Regions from separate parts of the Homo sapiens genome. Here region 1 is linked to region 2. The links are contacts of gene promoters, found by promoter capture Hi-C in human tissues and cell types (Jung and others, 2019). All regions are on one chromosome and are shown on one strand. Each heading gives the region's core, a stretch centred on a gene start or on the middle of the fragment in contact. The rest is flanking DNA. Distances are from core to core; before and after follow the strand shown. Region 1 overlaps ADAMTS9 (ADAM metallopeptidase with thrombospondin type 1 motif 9). Region 2 holds the start of ADAMTS9 (ADAM metallopeptidase with thrombospondin type 1 motif 9).

The links. The method cuts DNA at HindIII sites, captures the fragments that hold promoters and counts their contacts. A contact is called where the count stands out against the background at its distance.
Region 1: a fragment that was not itself captured here is called in contact with the fragment with the promoter of ADAMTS9 in region 2 in 1 of the 25 tissues and cell types used here (aorta).

What each region holds. Positions count from the first base shown.
Region 1 is chr3:64,551,556-64,557,995 of GRCh38, forward strand. The region is part of intron 30 of ADAMTS9 (ADAM metallopeptidase with thrombospondin type 1 motif 9); the gene reads right to left. Among named protein-coding and RNA genes, the nearest start is that of ADAMTS9-AS1, 6.6 kb to the right of the region's middle. The HindIII fragment of the contact is 7,412 bases long and covers 1-6,039 here.
Region 2 is chr3:64,685,836-64,692,469 of GRCh38, forward strand. It overlaps ADAMTS9 (ADAM metallopeptidase with thrombospondin type 1 motif 9), which reads right to left and starts at 2,165. Exons shown (of 40, transcript NM_182920.2): 1 at 1,708-2,165; 2 at 733-1,133. The coding sequence starts at 1,822. The region is part of intron 1 of ADAMTS9-AS2 (ADAMTS9 antisense RNA 2); the gene reads left to right. The HindIII fragment of the contact is 6,670 bases long and covers 1-5,447 here.

The sequences.
Region 1 (6,440 bases), core at 1,084-3,583, 130 kb before region 2:
ATTCACCACCCAGCTGTCTAAAGGAAGGAAGGAAAGTATAAATGAGTCAATCTCAGTTTAGAAAGGACCTTAAATCCTATTTACTTCAAACACCTACTCACAAGTGACTTGATATTGACACTTATGGCCAAATGTTTACCAAGCTGGTGTCTAAATACCTCCAGGATCAGGGACATCAGTACCTTCCCAGATAGCCATCTCATTTCATAACATGGAACCAAACAAATCTCTTTGTATGTTCCAGGCCCCTGTCCTAGTTTTCCATTCCAGGAAAGCATAAAGGAAAGTTTCAGCTCTCACAAGTAATCTCCTTCAGCTATTTGAAGAGGGCTTTCCTTTAGCCCCAGGTGCCTTTTCTTCTCCAGGGGAACTGCTCTCATGCCACATCATTCTGCAAATATTCACTAAGTTCCTACTAGGTGTCAGGCCCTGTGACGGGTCCTGGGTGAACAAGAGTGCACACAAATGGCACATTCTCTGTTTTCAGAGAGGAGCTTATATGTTAGTAGCAAAGGCAGACAACAAAGAAGATAGCTAGGTAGTGAGATTTAACAATTACTGTAATTCCGTTTTCCAGATGAAGAAAATGGGACTTTGAGAGCCTAAGTTACTTGCCCCAGGTCACACATCTCTTTGTGAGGTAGACGGGACAGCTATGTTTATTCCCATAAGCCAAGGGATGATTACAGAGCAAGTGGTATGTTTCATTCTAGGATAATCTCTATGTCCACAGATTCTTATTTGTTTTGCTTTAGCCAACACCAAACCCCACCCCTGAAGTTTATCCTTAGTGCCCTGTGTTGCTAAAGGTCACTGAAAGCCTATTGTATCTAAAGCCTCTGTGTCACCCAACATTTCAAGACTCATTGGGAAGCCCCAGTGAGCTAAGTGAAACCTGTACCAAGGACTGCTGCAGTTTCTTAATTTAGGCCAGGGATTGAATACCCTGTTGGCAACGGGCTTATCTAACAACTGTGATTTTTGTTGTGTGGTCAGAATGTTGTCTTTTCTTTTCTTTCCTTTTTTTTTTTTTTTGAGACAAAGTCTCCCTCTGTTGCTCATGTTGGAGTGCAGTGATGTGATCACAGTTTGCTATAGCCTCGACTTCCCTCCTACATTTTAGTCCCAAGTAGCTGGGACTACAGGCATGAGCCACCACGCTCAGCTTATTTTTAAATTTTTTGTAGAGATGAGTCTCACTACGTTGCCCAGTTTGGTCTTGAACTCCTGGGTTTAAGGGATCCTCCTGCCTTGGCCTCCCAAAGTTCTGGGATTACAGGCGTCAGCCATCATGCCCAGCTAGCACACTGTCTTTTAAAATGTCTAATTTTAGTCTCTTTACGGAGAACTACAGACCCCACCTCTCTTTTTCATCTAATGGGCAGCCTTTCCTTTTATCCCTGCCTTGCCTCAAAGGCATTTATGTTTGGAACTCAGCTTCACTCAGAAATGTCTTCTATGATATGCCCTATGTCTTTTTTTTTTTGGTGATAAAATACACAAAATATAAAATTCACCATTTTAACTATCACAAGTATAGAATTCAGTGGCCTTTAGGACATTTGCAATATTATGCAACCATCACCCCATCTAGTTCCAGAATATTTCATCACTGCAAAAGGAAGCCTTGTACCCGTTCACCAGTCCCTCCCCATTCCTTCCTTCCTGTAGCCCCTAGCAAACACCAGTCTGCTTTCTGTCTCTGCAGATTTGCCTATTCTGGGTATTTCACATATATGGAATCATCCAATATGTGGCCTTTATTACCTGACTTCTCTCCCTTAATGTTTTCGAGGTTCTTCCATATTGCAGCATGTATCAATATTTCACTCCTTTTTAAGGCTGAATAAGATTCTGTTGTACGGATATACCACATTTTGTTTATCCATTCCTCAGTTGATGGACATATGGGTTGTTTCTCATTTGGCTATTGTAAATAGTGCTGCTATGAACATTCATGTACAAATTTAAACACCTATTTTCCATTCTTTTGGGTATATATACCTGGGAGTGGAATTGCTGGGTCATATAGTATGCCCCGTGCCTTTCGTGAGCTACCCTGTTCCTTTAGGAAGGAGAAGGGATATGCTGGCATTTCCTGGTAGCCCCTTGTCACTTGCAAACTAAACTTAAAATTTCTGCTGCTTGGGAGTAAACCTCAATATCTAGAATATGGAGTCAGTCCTCATTTTTCTGGAGCATAAACATAACTTGAAACCACTGTGAGGTGAGCATGGAGGAGCAGAATCATTTCAAATTAGTGCAGGAGGCCGGCTGAGCCCAGTTCCCTAGCTCATCCCTAGCTCAGTGGTTTTGGGGTTCTCTATTCCCCTAGAAAAAAAGTGTTTTTTTCATCATTAAAAAGGTGAGATAGAGGGCCACCGAATGTTAAAAAAGAAAAGAAAAGAAAAATTTAATCTGTGATGTGTAGATATATGCAAATACTTAACCACCCATAGAAAAAGTAATTCCTTAGAAAATTAGGACTTAGGTGACTCTGAGAAGATCCTAATTATTGCGCAGCTAAACCTGGACTAAACCTTCCAGTATCCTCTCTTGTTTTCACTAATCCACAAGGCTTTAATCTGCATCAATAAGTAACAGTTCAGAGCAGAAATACAATGAATCCTAAATACTTTATGCTTGTTAAGCGTTTCTCTCTCAGTCTTAAAGAATGGTTAACTACTGTAAAGACTATTTTGCCAGCGGTGGAAAGGGGAGCTGGAAAAATTTACCTTGAATATAACTTTTACAAAATTAAAAATTAAACTAAGTAAATAAGTGACTTGCCCAGTGTTTCCTAAATTAGTCAACAGCAGCTCTGAAAATCACATGGCAAGGGTTTTCTCCTGGAATCTTAAATCCTAACTAGGGTATGGGGGCTGGGTAATCAGAAAACAAATCGAGTCCATGCTATCAGGTTTCATCAGCTTTTTGTAATATGGCTTCCCCCTCAACCCTCTACGATTTATGACTCTTTCCCCTGTCCTGGAATATGATCTAGAATGTTCTGAAAAACAGTTGGAAAGTTCAATTAGCCTCATTTTAATTTCCAAAAGGTTTTCTCTAATTTCAGTATGGCTTTTAGAAAAATCTCTAACACAAGTAACACCACCAGCCTCCTTGCATTTCATCACACACTATAATTCAGAAAGAAAATAATCACAGTGCTGGACTAAATCGGGCAGCTCGCCCATTGTTCTGCAAGCTACATGTGCCTTTAAATATGCTGAAATTAACAGGGGGAAAAGAACTTCTCCGAATTTGAGGGTGAGGAAGACCTAAAGTAAACCCTGAAGGTGGTATTTTATTCAGCCAGGTAGGTTGGCCACAGAGTGATGGTCTGAAAAGGATCATTTAATGCAATGGGTAGAAATTTTCTTTGCTTAAAGATTATAATCAAGTTGCTTTACACTTTCAAATATATCTTTTGGTGCAATTCCCTAACCATGGGGGGAAGAAAACCGCTTGAGAGTCACAGGCTCTACCTTTTAAGGTTGTTGATTTTCTCCATGGATGAAAGACCTTGTCTTCTCTAGTGCTGGGTTACCATTGTTGCACAGTGTATGGACGGCAACTCACAGAACCACAGGGTTCCTGGGTTTTTATGTCATGAGAAGCAGCAATGACAAATCAGTTTATCTAGCGTTGCTTTAAATGGCAACAACGAAAAAAGCAGTCCTTACTTTAAAGCTCATTTTAAAGTCAGGTATACAGAATTTAGACATTTTTGCTCCCAAATAGTATATATTTGTTAGGAGGTGCGGTGGGGAGAAGGAGGCAGAAATAATACTATGGAGACACTTTGTAACTTTAAAGTCATTCATTCATTCAATCAATCAGTATTTTACAATGAGCCAAGGTCTATGCTGGGGCCCCGGGAGGCAGCCTCCATGGCTTCGTACCCTGTCTCTCTCCCTGTTAGGACACCCAGGGTGGCAGCTATTCCCAACTTGGGTTCCCATGTGTTAGCTCAGCTGGCTGACTGGTGACCCCTGGGGTTTAACACCTAGGGCTACCTGTGCAGTTGTGTAAGCAGTTGTGTTTGTAACAGAGCATGTAATTGAGTAAGAAGCCACCAGGGAGAGAAGAGGAAACACAACGGGGCAATTCCCATGATGCTGCAAAGGTGGGCCCAGGTAGCAGCAGATGAGCAGGAGAATGATGGAGGACATCAGTTCACCAGGCAAGGAGGGGAAGAGGACATTCTTAGGAGGGGCTCAGCATGCACGGTGGCTGGAGGTGAGAAATGGCATGGGTGGAGAAGCGGGGGAGCAGAATGACCACAGCATTTTGGGGTTTTCAGAGCAGATTATTTGTGGTTTGGGATTTTTAGAGCATCCCTAATGCCTAATGCCTGGAACTTCACAAGGGATTGATAAACGCTGGTTGAATAAATTAATAAAATGAGCAATAAAGAGTTCGTATCTGGCTCTGTGCGCACATCAAAACCTGGTCATTCCCTACTGTTAACTTCAGGAAAATCTTTTAAATCAACTGACCAAGGACCTGCTGCTCATTTCTAACTTTTCTGTGTTAAGGAGATGCACTTGGAAATCATTCTACAGCTGATCTTAATAAAAGCCCTCAGACTCCAAGTATGTATCAGAGTGGCCCAAGTCCCCATACCGCACCAAACAGCAGCGAGGTGAGCAGTTCTGCAACAGTCAGACATATCTGAGCACAGCTTGTCCATGGCATTGTGAGAAGAAAATAAAACAGCTGTTCTTACAGGAAAAACAGAGTTTGACTGTGCTTTTATTTTTTTATTTTTAATGTTTTTGAGACAGGGTCTTGCTCTGTTGCCCAGGCCGTAGTGCAGTGGCCTGATGATAGCTCACTGCAGCATTGACCTCCTGAGCTTAAGCAATCCTCTCACTTCAGCCTCCCAGGTAGCTGGAACTACAGGTCCATGCCACCATACTCGGCTAATTTTTTCTATCTTTTGTAGAGATGGAGTCTCACTATGTTGCCTAGGCTGGTCTCAAACTCTGGGGCTCAATGATCCTCCCTCCTTGGCCTCCCAAAGTGCTGGGATTATAGGCGTGAGCCACTGTGTCCAGCCTGCTTGACTGTTCTAAAAGTCATTTTAGAATGCCTTTATTCTATAGAGTGAAAGATGAAAGTCCATCAATTAGCAGGCACTGTTCTATGTTTTTTTCCTTCCTTCCTTCCTTCCTTCCTTCCTTCCTTCCTTCCTCCCTCCCTTTCTTCCTTCCTCCTTCCTTCCTTTTTTGCTTCCATCTTTCCCTCCTTCCTTTCTCCCTCCTTTCCTTTCTTCTTTCCTTCCACCCATCCATTATTTTGTTTCCTTCATTCATTCACAGATTCATTCATTTAACAGGTATCTTTGATGTTGTAGGTACCATGTTAAATGATAGAGAAGATTCTGGTGAACAAGCTTCCTGACCTTAAATAACTGATAACATAGATGAGAAAAACAGGCAATGAGAATTCCAGGTGTTAACTGCCAGAGTACAGTAATCTGCGTGTGTTGTGAGAGCTGAGTGGAGGAGCATCTGACTCAGATTTAGTGGGGTGGTGTGATTGGCAAAGGCTTCTGAGAGGAAGTGACATCTAGGTTGAGGCCTGAAGGATAAGAAAGGGTGACTGAGGTGAAGGTCAGAGGAAGGTGGTCTTATGATGAAGAGGTACTACAAGAGAAGAGTGTATTCCAGGTAAAGGGGGAAAAGAACACATGCAGGACCTGTGAGATCTATTCCTCAATGCTGCAGATGCATGGCCCCATACGATCACAATTCAAATTTGACCAGAAGGACCTCTGCTGCTCTAAGTGAATTTATATGTCAGATTGTGATACTATTAACAAGTAAATCCTTTGTGATAATAATTCTCAAAAGAATTAAAAAGTCTTTTTTAACTTTTTTCTTCCAAACAGCCTCATGAGCATTATAATTCTAAAGTGGGTAAAACTGACCACTGCGAGGACAAATTACTCACCTGAAGCTGGCGGGTGATATTAGAAGCCCAACATTATAAGGTGCAGGCTGAGTCAAACTGCTGTCATCACCAGAAGCCTCCATCGGAAGGCCACCGTACTAAAAAGAAGTCTACTTTGGGATGGCCTAAAATGTGCTAGTCACCATGTCGAATCATGTCATCTCACCAAATCCTCACTGTGACCCTTGAGCAAAGTCTGCCATAGAATTCCCATTTGGCAGATGAGCTAAGTGAAGTCTAGAAATTCAGAGTCAACTTTTCAGAGCCACACACTGAACAGAATTTTGCCTACAACATGTTGTTTCTAGGATGTAAACAAAATGAGATGTGGATGTGTGGATAGAGCACTTTTCTCTTGTCCAATTATTCTACCCTATATCTGAAAGTCTGGGCTCTACTCTCATGGTATCAAGAAGGCCCCTTTCCCCTGAACAACCAATGGGCTTCACAATGAACAGGAAGTCCACTGAGGGGCTCCA
Region 2 (6,634 bases), core at 915-3,414:
CCCACTATCCCGTTTCTCCCGGCCACCCCGCCAGTAGGGTGCAGAGTTGGACTGCGCTGCACCCCCACTCTCGGTTCCACCCCAATTCAAAGCGTCCGGGGTAGGCTCCGCCTTCTCCCCCGCCCCCAGAGCCCTCGGCCCACCCTTCCGTTCCTGGGACGGGACCTGCTCCCTGTCAATCCAGTTCAGCCTCAGGGTTCCTGGCGCGTGAATAAAGGCCCTGAGAGAAAGCGGGGACTCTAGATTACGCACCGCCCTCCACAACACACACTGAAGGAACTCCCAGTGCCTTGGGCAGGGGATCCTCAGCCCCACATCCCCGATGCAAGGCGCACCAATAAGGAGTCTGGTCCGCCCTGCGCTCAGCGGCTCCGCTCCCGGGTGGCCAAGTTTGCTGCAGGGAACCGCAACTCCAGTAACTTTCTCCGAGTTTGGAAACTGACTTCCAGGCCGCCTCGCAGCGTTGGGCAACGCGCCGCTGAACCGAGTCCAAACTCCAGAAAGCTCTGAAACATCCAGAAGCCCCTGGGGGCGGGTGTGTGCGCTCCACGCCAGTGTACTCGCACGCACAGAGCTAGCTACCCAAACCATACGAGTTTCTAGCTGATATTTAACGCCGGAGAGGAGCGGAGCCTCGCCACAGTGAGGGTCTCTAGGCTTAGAGGACAATTAAGTCTTCTAGAAGCGGGCGAGGAGGCGGAAGGGGAGAGGAGGTGGCGCGCGCCCACTTACCATTCCTGAGCAGAGGCTGATGACGGCCGTGTGCTCGGAGTTGGTATTGACATAGCCTTTGTAGAAACAGTGCTTGAGTTCCGCTTCCTCTTCGGAATAAAACTTGGTCTGATTCACCCCGGGCGTCCCGAGGAGGGTGACAGTGAACAGTGGAGCGATAAATCCGGCATTGGCGGTGAGATTAAATAGAAACTGCTGGCCGAAGGCAGAGAGGCGGTAATGCGCCTGGGAGGAGGTAGAGGAGGAAGAGGAGGAGGCGAAGGCAGGCCAGGGGTCAGTGGCAGAGTTAATGCTCCGTCGCGTTCTTTTGAAGTGGACGTTCGTGGGAAAGGGTTCTCCGAGAGCGTTCACTCGGATGGGAGACACGATTTCGTATTCGCTCAGGGTCTCTAATAATTTCACTGCGGAGAGAAGCAGAGGTATATGAACCAATAATTCATTTTTCCTTAAGCTTTAATTTAAAACGAAGGTGGGGACTTTGTTCTGACCTTATTTTCCAGCCCATTCGAGTCAATCCCTTCACCCTTAATCAGTGGACAAATATTTGCTGAGCACCTACTATGTGCCAGTAACAGGACCTGTGCTAGGTGCTGAGGATACACTATTCCGAGCCAGACAATTAACAAGTCAAAATATATATGATTTCAGATATTGATAAATAACCTGAATAAAATAAAACATGACGCTATCTGGTGCCCCCAATTACTAAGTTACTTTAGTTTGCGGCGTGGGAGTGGGGATGGGGATATATCTGGCAACAGCAAGGTAGGGGGGGGTTGCCTAAATTCGTTTCCATAGTGTCCCTCCCTAGCAATTGGTTGGGGATGACCCAAAGAAGGGAGAGGCTGCAAAGCGGGAGATAATTCTTTCTAGGAAAAGGAGAGAAGCCTCCGCTGCGGGGTGCCCCTGCCCAGGAGCGAGGACCGGGAGGCGGCGTCGGGGCCGGCGGGGTCCCGGGGGCCGGAGCCTGGTTACCTTGCCTCGGGTGCAGCCTGTCCTTGCGCACGGCCGCCGCGGCGTCTGGGCTCCCCATCTCGGCCAGGTCCCGCACCAGGAGCGTTAGCAGTGTGGCCCAGGATACAAACTGCATGGTGCTTCCCACCCCTCCCTCCGCTGCCCCCACCCCCCTCCCTCCTGCCCTCCTTGGCTGCGGCGGCGACGCGAGGCAGCGGCCGTGGAGAGCGCGCGGAGCCCGGCGCCCGCCGCCAACTTTTGACTTTAGGAGTCGCTGAGGTCTCGCTGCGAGGGTCCCGTCTGCGCTCGGCTGAGCAACGCCGCCGCCTGCCGAGAGCTGAGCCGCTCGGGCCGCAGGAGGAGCCGGAGGAGCAGGAGGAGGAGGAGGACTGGGGCTCGGCTGCTTGGCCGCATAATGCCCAGCGAGCGGGCAGGAGAAGGCGAGGAACTTGCGCTCCGAGGCGCGCCGGGCGCCCTGTGCTGGCCGGGATAGCTGAGCGGCTTCTTGAATGGGGGGCTGGGGGGGCGGAGGCGGGGGGGCCGCGGGTCCACAGCCTCTCAAATGCCCCCGGTGCACGCCTCTAAGAGGAGGAGAGGGGAGGAGAAAGCGAGACGAACGGGGACCGCCTCCTTCCAGACCATGTCCCCTCCTCGGCCGGCCCGTGCGGGACTCGCAGCCGGAGGCCCTGCCGGCTGCAAGAGGCGGAGGCCAGAGGCGTCACCAGCGCCGGGGCAGCTGTTCCTGGTCCCCGCCACCTCGCTGAAGTGGGGTTTTCTGAGATTCCCTGCCCCGGGGAGGGAAAGCAGGGAAAGTTCTCTCCCTTTCCTGGCGCGCGTGCAGCCACTTCCCCTCTCGTCTTTTTCCTCTCCTCTCCTCTCTCTCCTCCCTTCCGAGTCTCTTTTTCCTCCTCCCCCTTGTCTCTCTGCTGCTGTGCCTCTCGGACTCTGTCCCTTCTCCCCATTTTCCCCTGTGATGTCTGTCTTCTCCCCGCCCCACCGTGTCCCTGTCTGTTTCTCACATTTCTCCTTTTCCTTTCCTTTCTCTTCCGTCCCCATCTCTTGCCACCAGTCCCCATCTTTTGGTTTCTTACAAGTGAAAGTGGCCCAGCGCCGGAGCGCCTTCCCTTCCTACACTTTTTCATTCGGGAAGAGATTTGGCACCTGAGCTCCGCTCTCGATTTAATCACCCCAAGTCAAGAGTTTTAGAAATGGGGTTCTTAATCCTGCAGGTCGGAGTGTGTTTCTAATACGTGGTCTCTTGAAAATTTCGCAAAATATTTAAGCTGTGCTTTCCACCAACCTCTGTCACCATTCATGGAGGGTCCATAGCATTCTGTAGGTCCCCTGCCCCAAAAAAGGTTAAGAACAAATTTTGGCAGCAAGAAGGGGCGGGGACTCTGGCGCCCCTCACTACCAGGGGGTTTAGAGATGGGAGGGGAAGGGGGGATGGAGTGTAAAGTTGTAGATCCCTGTGGGAGGCACCAGTCCCTGGAGGGATTTCTCAATCACTTCCGCTTGCTTTCAGCCTGAGAGATGCTTGGAAAGACTGGGAAAGACTGAAAGCAGGCGCTTCAAGCTACACCTTCGTGTGTGTGTGTGTGTGTGTGTGTGTGTGTGTGTGTGTGAATTGTTCAATCTTGGGTGGTTCAGTGGCGCCTTTTCTTTAACCAGCCCTCAGGAAGATAGAATTTCAAGATAATTTCAAGAGGAAAGACATGACAATATCGTTAAAAATATATAAATATATGACTAATAAATATATATTTGCCCAAGTATCCTAGAACGGGGGTTGAGGTTCTGTTGCGTGGTAGGTTAGCACTCAGGACTAGAAATACCAAAGATTGCCAACACCAGGAACCAAATCGCAATATGCTAGCAATGTCAACTATTCTTGAGATACTAATACATATATTTCTTCTGGTGAAGGGTAAAAATGACTTGGCAAGACGAATTTGCTAAATAATTGTTAACCCAAATTGATAATGTTACCATCGTCTTATTACTGGAATTTCATAATGGATATGTAAAATGTAAGGATGGAAAAATAACATCTGTATTGTGCACAATTAGAGATTTTTAGAGAATGGCATTTAAACCTTGAACCTCCAAATTAATTCACTAAAATACGTTTCTTCTAATACACAATCTTTCTTTTTATTATAACAACATTCCCCACAATCACAGTGTCTGGGAGTTGCTGAAAATTTAGTAAGGAACAGAAAAATATCAAGAAATCAATCTATTGGCTGATTCCTGTGGAAAATATTCCAGTACTTCCATTGTAAAATTACTCAAAAATATAGCACTTTCCAGTATTTCCCATTAAATCTTTTTTTCTCTTTCAGTTCAAATCCTTCCTGACAAAGAGAAGTTAACTAATGGTATAGAAATTACGATATGTAGGGACAGAAGCCTCCTTTGTGTACTCTCTCTCCTTTGCTTTCTTTCTAGGACTTTGCTTGAAGAATGAACTTTGTCTACAGTTTTAAAAAATTGATCCACAAGAGCTGATAGGCCAGAAAGATACAAAATATCTCTTGGTGAACTCCTGAGGTGACCAAGAACCTAGGTTTATGAATTTCTCATCCTTAGTGAGTCTACCCATCTTTTCTTCAGTGTATTAGCTGGCTTCTGCATTTACATCTGTAAAAAAGTCTTAAAGAATCTTAGGAAAATGTCTTTTAAATCGTGAGACATGAAAAAGACAGTTGAGCTAACTAAGCAAGTCAGGCAAAAATCTTTTGTCTGAATAATTACTCTTTGTCTAAATAAGTACTCTTATTCAGTACTTACCATGGGGTAACATATAGCATTTAATTTAATTCTCAAAACAGCTCTTTCAGGAAGTCAGTGTCAGTAATCTCATTTTACCAATAAGGATACCGAGATCTGAATAAGTGAAATAATTTGACCCCCCTCAATCCAGTAAGTGAGAGACACGATTCAAACTCCGTTTCAGTCGTTCAATCCAAGTTCATAACTATTATCATATGTCATGAATAACTGATTAATCAGAAGCACTGCTAGATTTTTGGAGGGTTGCTTTGTGGGAAAATGGCTAAAATCATTCAGAGAATTGCCTCAAGCTTTTATTGCATGTATAACTTTTCTTTAGCTCTCTCTTATTCTTCTCATGCAAAGTATTTAATGAAAATCATGTCAGCGATTTCATTGATATTTCACAGCTTTTCCCTCAGCAGTTAGAAGAGATCTGGCACATAGTAGGTAGTCAATAAGTATTTATTAAGACTAGGCATGGTGGCTCACACCTGTAATCCTAGCACTTTGGAAGGTTGAGGTGGGAGGATTGCATGAGGTCAGTTCAGCGGTTCAAGACCAGCCTTGGCAACATAGCAACCCCTTGTCTCTACAAAAAAAGAGAAAAGAAATAATAAAATGAAATAAAATAAATTGGCCCCTCATAAAAATTTGCTCTGAAAGAAGCAAACCTTTTCAAGGTCACCTGGAGTTAAAGGAGGGACAGTTTTTAGCCCGTTTTCTTCGTGGGACTTTACTGGAATTGAATGGTATTGTAGGTTAAGTGGAAGTATTCATTGGCTGATTCGTCATGAAAATTAGATCCCAGAGGAGTGATGAATGATATTAGTCACTAGGGAGAGATAATCCGGCCAATGGAAATGACAGTGATGACATCACAAATGACTCTGTTTGCCTAATGCCACTGGAAACAGCAGGAAGGAGACTTGAAGCAAAGCCATCAATTTCCACAGAAAGGGGAAACCCACACCCAAATGGTAGGGAGGGCCCAGGAGCCAGAATTCAAGTGAATAGTTTCCTGAGTGGTCAGCAGCGTCAGGTGATTTGGGGAACAGATAAGCCCCTGGTACTTGGTAGCACTGCATTCTGGTCAGTGAATCACCAAGCTGGGACCTGGTGCTGGCTGAGCTCTGTGACCTTGGGCCTAAAGAATCTTAGGGAGATGTGTTTTACATGACAAGAAATGAAAAGGACAATTGTGCTAACTAAATAATTTGGGTTCCAATCTTTTGTCTGAATAATAATAATGAGAATCTTTTCTTGAGTACTTACTATGTACCAGACCATGTGTACTATGTCCTCTCTGATCCGGTTTCCTATTTGCAGACTGCAGCAGGTAGAAACTGTGTTGTCTTTGTTTGCCCTGTGAGTGAATGACCTTAGTGTATTTTTTAAAAGTCTTCTAACTACTGACTTCAAGCAACAGGTACTGTAGAGAAAGTAGTTTGTATCATTATTGATAATAACAGTAGATTCCCTTCATTGAGTTCTTTGTGCTAATTATTCAATCCTCATAGCTATCCTGCCATCTGGGTTTTACCCTCCTCATTTTACTTACAATGAAAATAAGACCCAGCAAAATTAAAGTGACTTTGCCTGGCATTATGGAGTCAGAATGTGCAGTTGGGATTTACACTGGGGTCCAGTTACCTCCAAAGCTTGTGATCTCCATTAATCAGAGCAGCCTAGTAACATAAAGACTGTCGCCTAATTGATCTTCATCATTCAGCATTTATATTTGGCCTGATGAATACCATCTGTGAGAACATCATTTTTTCTTCTAATGCTAAATCTAAAGTTCTAACTAGCTTTTCTTGACCCTACTCTGAAAGTCATAGTTCCACTTTGGAGGTGGCTCTGTATAGCTCATGACCAGCTTATAGCAGTTCTACGAAGGTGATCCGATCTTCAGCCTGTTCACTCAGCAGGAGCTCCTTGTTGACTTGTCATTCTAGAAGACCATACTCACATTATTGCTCAGGCTTTAAAACTCCATATGCATCCCACTAATCTTTCCTTTGACTGTATTCTTAGGGCTTCAAATCCTTTTTCTCCTCCCTCTACTATCCTTGAAATGAGAGCTTCACACCTGGGGTTCAACATCATAACTACAAATGGAATTCAGAAGTGCTAGGCTTCTAGCTTTGATCCAAACTACTTCCAAACTGCA